Regions from separate parts of the Homo sapiens genome. Here region 2 is linked to region 1. The links are contacts of gene promoters, found by promoter capture Hi-C in human tissues and cell types (Jung and others, 2019). All regions are on one chromosome and are shown on one strand. The core of a region is centred on a gene start or on the middle of the fragment in contact, and the rest is flanking DNA. Distances in the headings are between cores, read along the strand shown.

Region 1 (5,274 bases), core at 186-2,685:
GGCGACATCTCAGCTCGCTGCAACCTCCGCCTCCTAGGTTCAAGGGATTCTCGTGCCTCAGCCTCCTGAGTAGCTGGGATTACAGGCGCCCACCACCACACCCAGCTAATTTTTGTATGTTTAGTAGAGACGGGGTTTCACCATGTTGGCCATGCTGGTCTCGAACTCCTGACCTCAGGTGATCCGCCCACCTTGGCCTCCAAGTGTTGGGATTACAAGGGTGAGCCACCGCGCCCAGCCCAAGGATTCTTACAGATAGGGCATAGTCTCAGCATCAGACTAATATGGTTATCTTGTTTGCTTTTTTCAAAAAACACCAGCGCCCAGGTAATAAATACAAGGTGAATTTTGTTCCAAGTACATCTAGCCTCTCTCCCCATCTCCAGTCCCTGCTTTAGGATCCGTGGGGAGGGCATGGAAATTCGTTTTGGGTTGTTTACCTGTGACTTCACCCTACTCATCATTCCTACTTACATCAAAAAAGACACAGCAGATACGACTGTGTTTGCAAAGTTCTGCCTTTTGGATAAAGTAGTTTATGCCCATCCTGTGCTTCTCTGAGTTTCTGAGGTCAGGCCAGGAACCAACACTCTCAACCTGCCCAAGGGAATGGGGAGGAAGCCAGCGAAGTTGCCTCAGATCAAGAGGATTTTTAAAAATACTGCAAAAGAAATACGTGCTCACAAATACTCAGCTAAAACCTTCGCAGAGCTGTCAGAGGACAAAGCTTTTGGAGGGAGTGGGTGGAGCTAGAGATTGCACAGCCGCCACCAGCCTACAAAGGTCAAATCTCACACTCTCAGATCCCTAATTCCGAAGAGCCATTTCCTCGGCAGCCCCAGGCTTTGGCCGATCGCTCCCAGATCCCTCCCTCCCCAAACTGCAGGTGCTCCGCGTGTGGGAGTCACGGATGGCCCCAGAGCCCGGGACGTTAAGGCCGAGCGCCCGCGCCTCCGCTTCTCCACAGCCACCTGACGGCCAGGGGCAGGTGGGGGAGCCCAGCCTTCTCCCTGCCCGGGAGACAGCGCGGGAGGGCTGTTGCAGGGGTGGGCAAAGTCCCTCGAGTCCCCGTTCTGGGGCGGGGGCGCGCGCCACTGTCACACTTCAGGCGTCCGCCACGCCGCCAGGTGTGCTCGGCCGACCCGGAAGTAGCGGCACCTCTAGTGCGCTGCGGAGACGTCACCCTGCCGCGGCACAGGGGCGGGAGCGCCTGTGGCTCTGCGCACTTGCGTCATCACGTAGGCTGGCGGGGTCCCGTGATGGGGAGGTGACGTAGGCGACACGGAAGCGGCGGTGGGCGGGGACAGGGAGTTAGCGGAATCTAGCCCCGCCTCTTAAAGCCTCCCAACCCTTTCGGAGTTAGCGCAGCGCGAACGCTGGGTGCGGCGCCTTTAAGCGTCGCGGTGACACGTGTGTGAGGCGCCGGAGGCCCGGATGGTGCGCGTGCTGGGCCGCGGGCCGAAGGAGTCGCCAGGGCTGCGTAGGCTTGTGGCGCGCCCGCGGAGAGGCCGGGGTAGGCTGGGGTCGGGTCGGGGCGGTGCGCAGGCCTGGGGACGAGACCGGGGCGGGGGGTTCCGCGAGGCCTGGGGCGCGGGAAGGGCTGGCGGGCGCAGCCGGGACGCTCAGGGAGAACGTGGGCGCGGGTCCGCGCAGGGCTTCGGCCGTCCCCGAGGAGGACCCGGGATGCTCCGCCCGCTCGCGAGCTCGCTTCTCCAGAGCCCGGGTATTCCCGAGGAGGGTCCGGGGCCGGGCTGTCCTCGCCGGTCTCCGCCGTCCCCCGGGCTCCGGGCCGGTGATGGGGGTCGCCGGGGCCCGCTGTCTGTGCAGGATTCAGGTCAACTTCGGAGAGGTTGAAGTCGGAATCAGGGCGAGGGCGTCGCGTGCGGCCGCAGAGCTCAGCGGGGCGGGTGCGGCCCCGGGGCGGGCACCTTCCTCGTGGTTGCGGAGGAGGCCATGGAGCCCGGGGCGGGGTGCGGTTCCGATGCTGCTGCTTCTGGCGGGTGGCGTGGGGGTCCTGGGCCTGGGGCTGGAGTGGCGGCCGCCAAACCCAGACACACGAGAGGGGAGACTCCGCGCGCCCCCGTTTACGTAACGCTCGCCACGGAGCCATGCTCGGGGAGAGGTGCTCGGGTCGCTGTGTCCGCGGCCGGGCTCGGGGCAGGCGCTGCGGAGTCGCCCGGGAGGCCCCTGGAGCGCGGCGCTGGGCCCCGGGAGGCCGCTGCTTCCGTGGGCTCCTCTCCCCAGCACGTGGTTGACCCTGCGAGCGTCCGTTGCAGTTCATCCTGGAAAAGTGACTTTAGAAGGAGGAGGGAGCGGGAATGAGCCTAAATGGTGCTGGCTGGGGTTCGCGCAGGTGGAAATGTGGATGAGGCCTGTGCTGTCCTTGGACAAGAGAGAGCATCCTTCCTGAGTTGGGTAGAGTGTGGATGGTGTGTGCGTCGGAGGGATTGCTAGTGATTACAGGAACACTTGTCTCGGGCTCCTACACGTCAGAGAGCGAGCGAGCGTTGTTTAGGTTATTGCTTAATGTTTTAGGTGGAATTGGTGAAGTAGAGATTGACCTGTCCCACTTGAAAAATTGTGTTCAAAATCTCTGCATCTACATTAAGGAGTGGGTTAAGTTCAAAGTTACTTATCTCGAGTGAAACTGGGTTACATCTCCCAAGGTTCGTTTATCCCCTCCCTAAGTGGTTCTCAAGCGTTGGTTGTGCATGACAGAGTTCTCACCTTCCAGGGTAGATGTGAGTCCTAACCGAAAGCAGTGATATTGTGGGGAGTTTTTAATACGACTGGATGTCTTCACTTTGTAGATGGCTTTTATTCTGAGATCATTTCCTTACACATTTTTCGGGAGTTGGTATGCTTTTATTTATGGATGAAGTCATAGGTCTGAGATTTGCTGTAGAATTACCTGGGGATGGGAAGTGACTCAGGATGGGTCAGATGTAGTTACTGAGGCTGAATAAGGGGGGCTCATGTGCTCCCTGTGCGGTTCTCCATCTGTGTGTTTGAATGTTTTCACTGTAAACTGTTTTTACGAACCTTAATTTTATGTAATCATAGTGATCGTAGATGGTAATGAAAGAGAAAATCCACACTTAGCAAAGCAAAATTTTGGCAACTCCTATTACTCCCTGAGGTTTGTTGTTGTTGTTATTGAAGTTTTACTGGTTCATTAAATCCAAAACTTGGGGATTTATTACCTCTTACTCTTTGGAAATAAGATTAGACTGGAGCTGACTGGCAGGTGTTGGGGAGGTTTTCCTTCTCTGGGCTTGTCTGGGGTCAAGGTTAAGGTGTTCATATCGTGTGCATTACAACAACTGGTGATGAGGTAGTACGGTCCACCCGCCTCATCCTGAGTGCACGCGTGGATGCTCCTTGGACGGCTTTTTCGTGGTAGAGGGTTCCCGGTGCGCGCCGCATCCCTGGGAAGTAGCTGAAGAGAAGGCACAGGAAGAGTCGCCTCCACTGATGGTCTCCCTGTCCCTCCCACAGGCTCTGACGCCCGCTCTGCGGCTTCGGTGTTTGAACAGGCCACAGTCCAGGAGCGCTTACATTCAGGAGCTCCGCGTAGCACCTGCCCAACCAAACTCAGCCCTCCGTTAAGATCCTGGTTCCATGCCGCAGTAGGACAGCAGGCCCAAGTCTGCACATCCCAGGTGAGTCTGCGAGGCTTCTGTGTATTTTTTGATTCCGTTGAATTGTCTGCATGTGACGCAGCAGTGATTGTTCAGTTGGTGAGAAGTCTTTGATAATTCTCATGAGAAAAGGCTCTTTTATTTTCTCAAATCAGACAACTTATAATGCTTTTTTTTAAATAAGCTTCTGAAATTTCTTTACAGAAGTTTTTTGTTTTTTGTTTTTTTTTTTTTTTGAGACCAAGTCTTGCTCTGTTGCCCAGGCTGGAGTGCAGTGGCGCGATCTCGGCTCACTCCAACCTCTGCCTCCCGTGTTCAAGCAATTCTCTGCCTCAGCCTCCTGCGTAGCTGGGATTACAGGCGCCTGCCACCATGCCTGGCTAGTTTTTTTGTATTTTTAGTAGAGAAACATCTTCGCCAGGCTGGTCTTGAATTCCTGACCTCCTGATCCACCCGTCTCGGCCTCCCAAGTGCTGGGATTACAGGCGTGAGCCACGATTTTTTTTGTTTTAAAGATGGGGTCTCACGATGTTGCCCAGGCTGGACTGCACTGGCTATTCACAGGCGTAATCATAGCTCACTGCAGCCTCAGGCTCCTGCCCTCAAGTTATCCTCCCACCTCAGCCTCCCAAGCATCTGGGACGACAGGCCCAGGCCACTGCACCTGGCTTTTCTTTACAGAAGTTTTTGTAGAAAAAGATACTTGATCCATGTATAGAATTAGATGATCCACAGTGATAAATTTGAATGGCTTAATATGAGGTGCTGGAGGAAGTCCTTACTTTCACTAGAGCAGAATTTTGGGGCACACTTGACTTGTTGATTCTCTGAGGGCAGGCTGGGTACTGAATACCAGAGGAAGTCATCATTTTTCTGATGTGAGTGAGCAATTTAAGGGACATATTTTTGAAATTGTGACTCAGATAGTCTGTGCTGTGTTTGGGAAGGTTAAGTTGAGAGGTGGTGGGTAGGGGAGGGCAAGTGGTGGATACAAAGGTAGCGATTGGAGAGGTGCAGGGGTCTCTTCTTGGTTACAGTTTCCATGCAGCTGCACCAACAGTATCGATCCTCTGTTAGGGACTGTAGTATGTAGCAAGCTCTAAAGCACTTCCCAAGCCTATTATTTTTGTTGCTATTTTACAGTAGAATAGGGGGTTTGGAGAAGTCATAGTAGTTGTCCCTGGGTTTCATAGCTAAGGATGATAGAACCTCCCGGGGCCACCACATTCCAAAGCCTGTGATCTCCCCACTCTCCTGCTTGGCTTTTCTTCTTCTCTTTTGATAAGAGTCCTGGGAAGACATTTGTTTAAGTTTAGGTGTCTAATGGATACTAGTCTCTAGGCCTGCTACTTGCTTTTCTTCTCCTTCCTCACTTTTAAAAAGATAATTTGTACTCCAAGCACTGTGTAATGGAGATTAATACAAGCCACAAATATAATTTAAAATTTTATAGTAGCCACATTAAAAAGAAGCAGGTGAAATTCATTTTCATAATTTATTTAACTCAATATATATAAAATATTACCATTTCAACAGGTAACTGATCTAAAAATTACTGGGATGTTTTACATTCTCTTCTTATACTAGTGAGTATTTCTCTTCAAAATCTGGTGTGCATTTTACACTTATAGCA
Region 2 (6,134 bases), core at 873-3,372, 1.3 Mb before region 1:
AGCTTTTCAAGCACTCCTAGAAAGAAGCTGTGGATTAAAGATGTGCCCAGCGATGCAAGCCAGATTTGTGACCATAAGAAAGGACAGGACCGGGCTCATGCCTGTAATCCCAGCATTTTAGGAGGCTGAAGCGGGCAGATCATGAGGTCAGGAGTTCAAGACCAGCCTGACCAACACGGGGAAACCCCATCTCTACTAAAAATACAAAAATTAGCCGGGCGTGGTGGTGCATGCCTGTAATCCTAGCTACTCAGGAGGGTGAGGAAGGGGAGTCGCTTGAACCGGGAGGCAGAGGTTGCAGTGAGCCAAGATTGCGCCACTGCACTCCAGCCTGGGGAACAGAGCGAGACTCTGTCACACACACACACACACACACACACACACACACACAAAATAGCGGGGCGCGGTGGCTCACGCCTGTAATCCTAGCACTTTGGGAAGCCGAGGTGGGCGGATCATGAGGTCAAGAGATCAAGACCATCCTGGCCAACATGGTGAAACCCGGTCTATACTAAAAATACAGAAAATTAGCTGGGCGTGGTGGCGCGTGTCTGTAGTCCCAGCTATTTGGGAGGCTGAGGCAGGAGAATGGCGTGAACCTGGGCGACAGAACTTGCAGTGAGCTGAGATCGCGACACTGCACTCCAGCCTGGGCGAACCGAGCAAGACTCCGTCAAAAAAAAAAAAAAAAAAAAAAAAAAAAAAGGACAGAGCTGGCGCTCGTGGAAATACAATTTTCCCAAAGTTAAAAACATGATTCTCAACAGCATGAACTGCCCTTCAAAGATGATGGAGCTGCTTCAAAAGGCGTTAGAGGAGCTGGGTACGAAGAAGCACTTAAAGTGTCAGATAAGAAAGCGGTTAGTGGCTGCGCGTGGACACCTGTGGTCCCAGGTGCTCTGGAGGCTGAGGCGGGAGGATCGCCTGTGCTCGGGAGGTGGAGGCTGCAGTGAACCGAGATCGCGCCATGGCACTCCAGCCTGGGCGACAGGGCCAGACTGTCTCAAAACAAACAAACGAACAAACAAAAAGCAGGTTAAGATGCACAACTGGTTAAAGTTCTGCTGGGCAATTAAAAAATGATCCCGTCTGGGTTATCTTTGCTGCAGGACACGCATTAGCAGCACCGTCTACTGACAAGTGGCCTTCATTAAGAGCAAATTGCAGGCTCAGCATGTATTTTATTTATAACAGCTGCTTGCCGGGCACAGTGGCTCATGCCTGTAATCCCAGCACTTTGGGAGGCCAAGGCAGGCGGATCACCTGAGGCCCCGCAGTTCAAGACCAGCCAGGACAACCCTAACCCCCGCCTCCCCCAACCCCGTCTCTACAAAAAAATTTAAAAAATTAGCCGGGCGTGGTGGCGCGCGCCTGAGGTCCCAGCTACTCCAGAGGCTGAGGCGGAGGCTACAATGAACCCTGATCCTACCACTGCACTCCAGCCTGGGCGACGGAGCGAGACCCTGTCTCCAACTCACCAGGCAAACGGTGAAGACACACCCAGGCGCGTCCCCTAAGAGGGACGCCGGCTTCAGGGGCCCTGGCCCTCCCCAGCGCAGACCCGCCGGAGCCCAGCGCCGCGCCGGGGCCCACCACCGGCGGCCGTGAGGGTTTCCACTCGAATCTCCCCGGCGAGCTGGGCGCCTCCACTACGGGTCTGCGACGCAGTCCACCCACTGCGGGCCCGAGAGAGGACCCGTGCTCGTCATTTTTATTCGAGGCGGGGCTATCTGGGGACCCCGCCCGGAGCGGAGGCCCCTCGCGGCCCCAGCCTGTTTCCAGGGAATTCAGGTCCACACGCCGCTCAAAGAACCTCAGCGCCCCAGTCCGCGAAATCCCGCGGCCGGTACGAAACACCGCCAACTTTAGAAGTACCACCCCCTCCATCCCTTTCGTAAGGAACTGGGTGCCCCGCCCTCAACGAGATCCCGCGGGAACTGCATATGGCGCGAGAGCAGAAACACCTTACTTTTCCCTGCGGCAAACGCCCAGTTCCCTTTCACGTGACGAAGAGTGCCCCGTCCCCCAGAGGCGTGGCCGCGTCGCGCGTACGCACGTACGCACGTACGCACGCACGTCTCTCGCTTTCGCATACTTAAGGCGTCTGTTCTCGGCAGCGGCACAGCGAGGTCGGCAGCGGCACAGCGAGGTCGGCAGCGGCACAGCGAGGTCGGCAGCGGCACAGCGAGGTCGGCAGCGGCAGCGAGGTCGGCAGCGGCACAGCGAGGTCGGCAGCGGCAGCGAGGTCGGCAGCGGCGCGCGCTGTGCTCTTCCGCGGACTCTGAATCATGGCGACCACGGCCACGATGGCGACCTCGGGCTCGGCGCGAAAGCGGCTGCTCAAAGAGGAAGACATGACTAAAGTGGAATTCGAGACCAGCGAGGAGGTGGATGTGACCCCCACGTTCGACACCATGGGCCTGCGGGAGGACCTGCTGCGGGGCATCTACGCTTACGGTGAGCGGGCGCGGGCCGCGGGGGCCAGCCGGGGGCGAGTCGGGGGCGAGCCGGGGGCTGAGGGCCAGACTGGTGACTCCCGGGCCGGCCCTGCGCTCCGGAGGTCGTGGTCAGGGTCGAGGCTCGGGGGCCAGTGACGTCCGACCCCCACCCCCACCCCCGTCCTCGCCCTCACGCCTGGCTGTGTCGGCGCTTTCGGTGTGTGTCCCCCGTGCAGAGCTCGGCGCTGGGTCTGTCGGGGGCTGCAGCCGCTTCGAGGCACCTCAGCGTCCTTCATTCAGCAGATAACTGATTTCTACCTATTAGCTTTTCTAGGTACTGGGGTTTTGGCGGTAAACCGGAAGGGTTTGCGCCTTTACGGGTTTTGAATTTCGTTTGGGGGGAAAGCATACTGTCAGGTTGCCCAGGCAACCTGAAGAACCTGAAGCGGGGTAATTGAATAGAGTGGGACTGGGAAGGAGGAGAGAATTAGTAAAGCAGAGAGGTAAGGGGGTTCGCAGGAGGGGGTGCCATTTGAGCAGAGTTCTGGATGAAGGAGACTGTTATGAGAAGAGGGAAGAGCAGTTGGGGCAGAAGGAACAGCTGGTGCCAGGGCCTTGCAGCCCTTAGCCAGCTGCATTCCAGGAACTGAAAGAAGTCCCCTGTGGTGGGATTTTGGAGAGCTAGTCGGGGCAGATCTAGCAAAGACGTGTAGGGTGACGAATAATTTGAATTTCATTTAGAAATCTAGTGGGAAGCCAGTGGAAGGTTTTAAGTAGCTATGTGACACGATCACATTTACAGTTTTAAAGATTCTTCTGGGTGTCTGTAGATTTGAGGTGAGGCGAGGCAAGGCAGGAGAGGAAACAAGAGAGTTGGGAGCTTTTGCTGCAGTTCAGGGAAGAGAGGATTGTGCTGCCTTGGAGATGGAGTACCAGGGAGCTGACAGCATTGGCTGATGGATTGAACGTGAGTGACAGAAGGAGGAGAGTTGGAGTGTTTTGAGTAACCGGTGGTTGATGCTGCAAACATTTGGCTAGGTAGGCAGCACTCCAGAGAGTCAGAATCAGGAGCTGTCTCTTGGTATGTTTGAAAGATGTGAGGAAGTTGAGGGAGAGCCTGGAGAAGAGGTTGGGTTGGGCACATAGATGGGAATGACCAGCATCTGGGATAAATGGCCTGTGTTTAATGCTTGGGACAGGGACATTTTTTATCCTGTAGTTCTCTTCCTTTTCTTTCTTCCTTTTCCTTCTGACAGTCCTGCTCTTGTCACCAAGGCTGGAGTGTAGTGGCATGATCTCAGCTTATTGCAACTTCCACTTCTGGGGCTCAAGCGATTCCTTTGCCTCAGCCTCCCGAGTAGCTGGGATTATAGGTGTGGGCCACCACGTCCTACTAATTTTTGTATTTTTAGTAGGGAGGGGATTTTGCCATGTTGCCCAGGCTGGTCTTGAACTCCTGACCTCAGTGATCCACCAGCCTCAGCCTCCCAAAGTGATGGCATTACAGGTGTGAGCCACCCCACCTGGCCGTATCCTGTAGTTCTTGATGCCACAACAGTTTGGACAAAGTGAAGCGAAGTTGCTGAGGATGCGTGGTGAAAAAGCATCTCAGGCAGCCTCACAGTGAGGCTGACAGCCCCACCTGGTTTCCTGGCACTCAGGCAGTCCCTGCCCTAAGACACTGTTGTTAGTTTCCCATCTATGTGCTTGCTCTTCATGAAGAGTTTAAATCATCTGCTATATTTGCATTTGTGTTAAGATGGGAAATTGTGCTACATTTTCTTTTGTTTCTTATTTTTCGCTATGCCCCAGAACTGAGCAGAGCTACATTTAAGAGACTACCAAAAAATAATTGAAATAGAGTTTTTGTACATAAAATTTTATTTACTTGAAAAACACGTGGTTCTTCTTCAAAATAGCCTCACCCTTTGGTGTAGTAGTTGCTTTGCAAGAGAGATGGTGTGATGGTGTTGTAGTTAGTGAGCTGCATCCAGACAGAACAACATAGGACACCCTGCAGCGTGACCCACGCAGGTTAAACAGAGTTGTAGACCTGTCAGCAACACACAGACTTAATGCTAGCTAGTAGGAGAGAACAATGGCTAGAGTGACTTTCCTGTTTTTTTGTTGTTTTTTTTTTTAATTTAAAAAGTAGTATAGGTTGTTTGTAATCCAGTCAAACCTAAGGGAGTAATTAGAGTAAAAAGTAAGTTTCTTTCCACCCCTCTACTGCAGTAACTGCCAGGAACATTTTGGCACTTACACTTCCAGATGCTGCACACCCAGATTTTTTTTTTTTTTTAAACAAAACTGTTGTCTATATTCTACAATTTGGTGGTTTTTTAAAAATAGAGATTGGTCTTTACAAATAATATCCCACGTTAGTGTAGAAATCACTCAGCCCAATTCATTGAGCCCCTGGGTTTTGAGAGCTTGCTATGTTGAACACTGGGTTAGGCTGGAGGACAGGTTCAAAAAACAAACCATGTCTGCCCCTGAGGAGCTCACAGTACAGGGTTTCTATGCTGTCATTGTGGTGAGGGCTAATTTTTTGTTTTTATTTGCAGGTTTTGAAAAACCATCAGCAATCCAGCAACGAGCAATCAAGCAGATCATCAAAGGGAGAGATGTCATCGCACAGTAAGTTGTCCTGGGGTGCGGCGCAGGGCTGGATGTAAATTTGGGCAGCGCAGTGCAGTTAGATGCTCTGGGATGACTGTTTCCCTCAGCTTGTACACGCTCAGTTCCAACACTTTCCCTGACTTTAGCCACAGGGTTTAATACTTTTTTAAATTTGTGTTCTCTACTGTGGAAAGCTTTCATTTTCTTTTTGAGATGGAGTCTCGCTCTGTTGCCCAGGCTGGAGTGCAGTGGTGCCATCTCGGCTCACTGCAACCTTTGCCTCTCAGTTTCAAGCTATTCTCCTGCCTCACCCTCCCAAGTAGCTGGGATTACAGGCATGCACCACCATGCCCGACTAATTTTCATATTTTTAGTAGAGACGGGGGTTTCACCATGTTGGTCAGGCTGGTCTCAAACTCCTGACCTCAGGTGATCCACCCTCCTTGGCCTCCTAAAGTGCTGGGATTTCAGGCATGAGTTACTGCGCCCGGCCAAGGCTTTCATTTTCTTAGCCAGCTTTGCTTAGTGGTTTGCTGGCATGTGGAATTGTATATAACACAATTTCGGAAAAACAGACTGTGCTTTTCCTCTGCTCTCACACCACCACAACAGTCATCAGCACAGAAGAAGACTTCTGTGAGCAGAGGTGTGGGGCTTTTCCAGCTGGGTGTCCTCCAGTTCAACTCACACCACCTGCCTGGAGATAGGCCATATCCTGCAGGTTGACGGCTCAGTCCCCATGACTACCCTCTTTTCAGACACCAGTTATAAGTTCGGATCTCTAGAACTTCTGACCAAGCAGCTTCAAGTTGGGTTCCCAGGATCCCCTCTTTAGGTTGGATTAATTTGCTGGAACAGCAGCTCAAAGAACTCAGGGAAACACATTTAGTGGTTTATTATAAAGGGTACTGCAGAGGATACAGATATGGGGGGAGGGGTGCAGCCTCCAAGGGGCGGGTGGTCACCTCCCGGAACCTCCTTGTGTTCCACTGTCTGTGTTCAGCCATCTAGAAGCTCTTCGAACCCAGTCCTCTTGGGTTTTTATGGAAAATTCCATGAGGTCAGCATTCTTTC

What was found. Contacts are between HindIII fragments. The study calls those that stand out against the background at their distance.
Region 2: a contact is called between the fragment with the promoter of EIF4A3 here and the fragment with the promoter of USP36 in region 1, in 1 of the 25 tissues and cell types used here (lymphoblastoid cells).

Annotation. Positions count from the first base shown.
Region 1 is chr17:78,836,975-78,842,248 of GRCh38, reverse strand. It overlaps USP36 (ubiquitin specific peptidase 36), which reads left to right and starts at 1,435. Exons shown (of 21, transcript NM_001385174.1): 1 at 1,435-1,513; 2 at 3,499-3,662. LOC124904067 (a long non-coding RNA gene) reads right to left here and starts at 1,135. Exons shown (of 2, transcript XR_007065923.1): 1 at 1-1,135. RefSeq lists silencers at 948-1,047, 1,508-2,027 and enhancers at 1,168-1,357, 2,952-3,466, 3,467-3,981. The HindIII fragment of the contact is 7,372 bases long and covers 1-4,894 here.
Region 2 is chr17:80,143,116-80,149,249 of GRCh38, reverse strand. It overlaps EIF4A3 (eukaryotic translation initiation factor 4A3), which reads left to right and starts at 2,122. Exons shown (of 12, transcript NM_014740.4): 1 at 2,122-2,457; 2 at 5,006-5,078. The coding sequence starts at 2,289. RefSeq lists enhancers at 41-753, 754-1,467, 1,468-2,180, 2,181-2,895 and silencers at 1,464-1,653, 2,494-2,543. The HindIII fragment of the contact is 11,065 bases long and covers 1-6,134 here.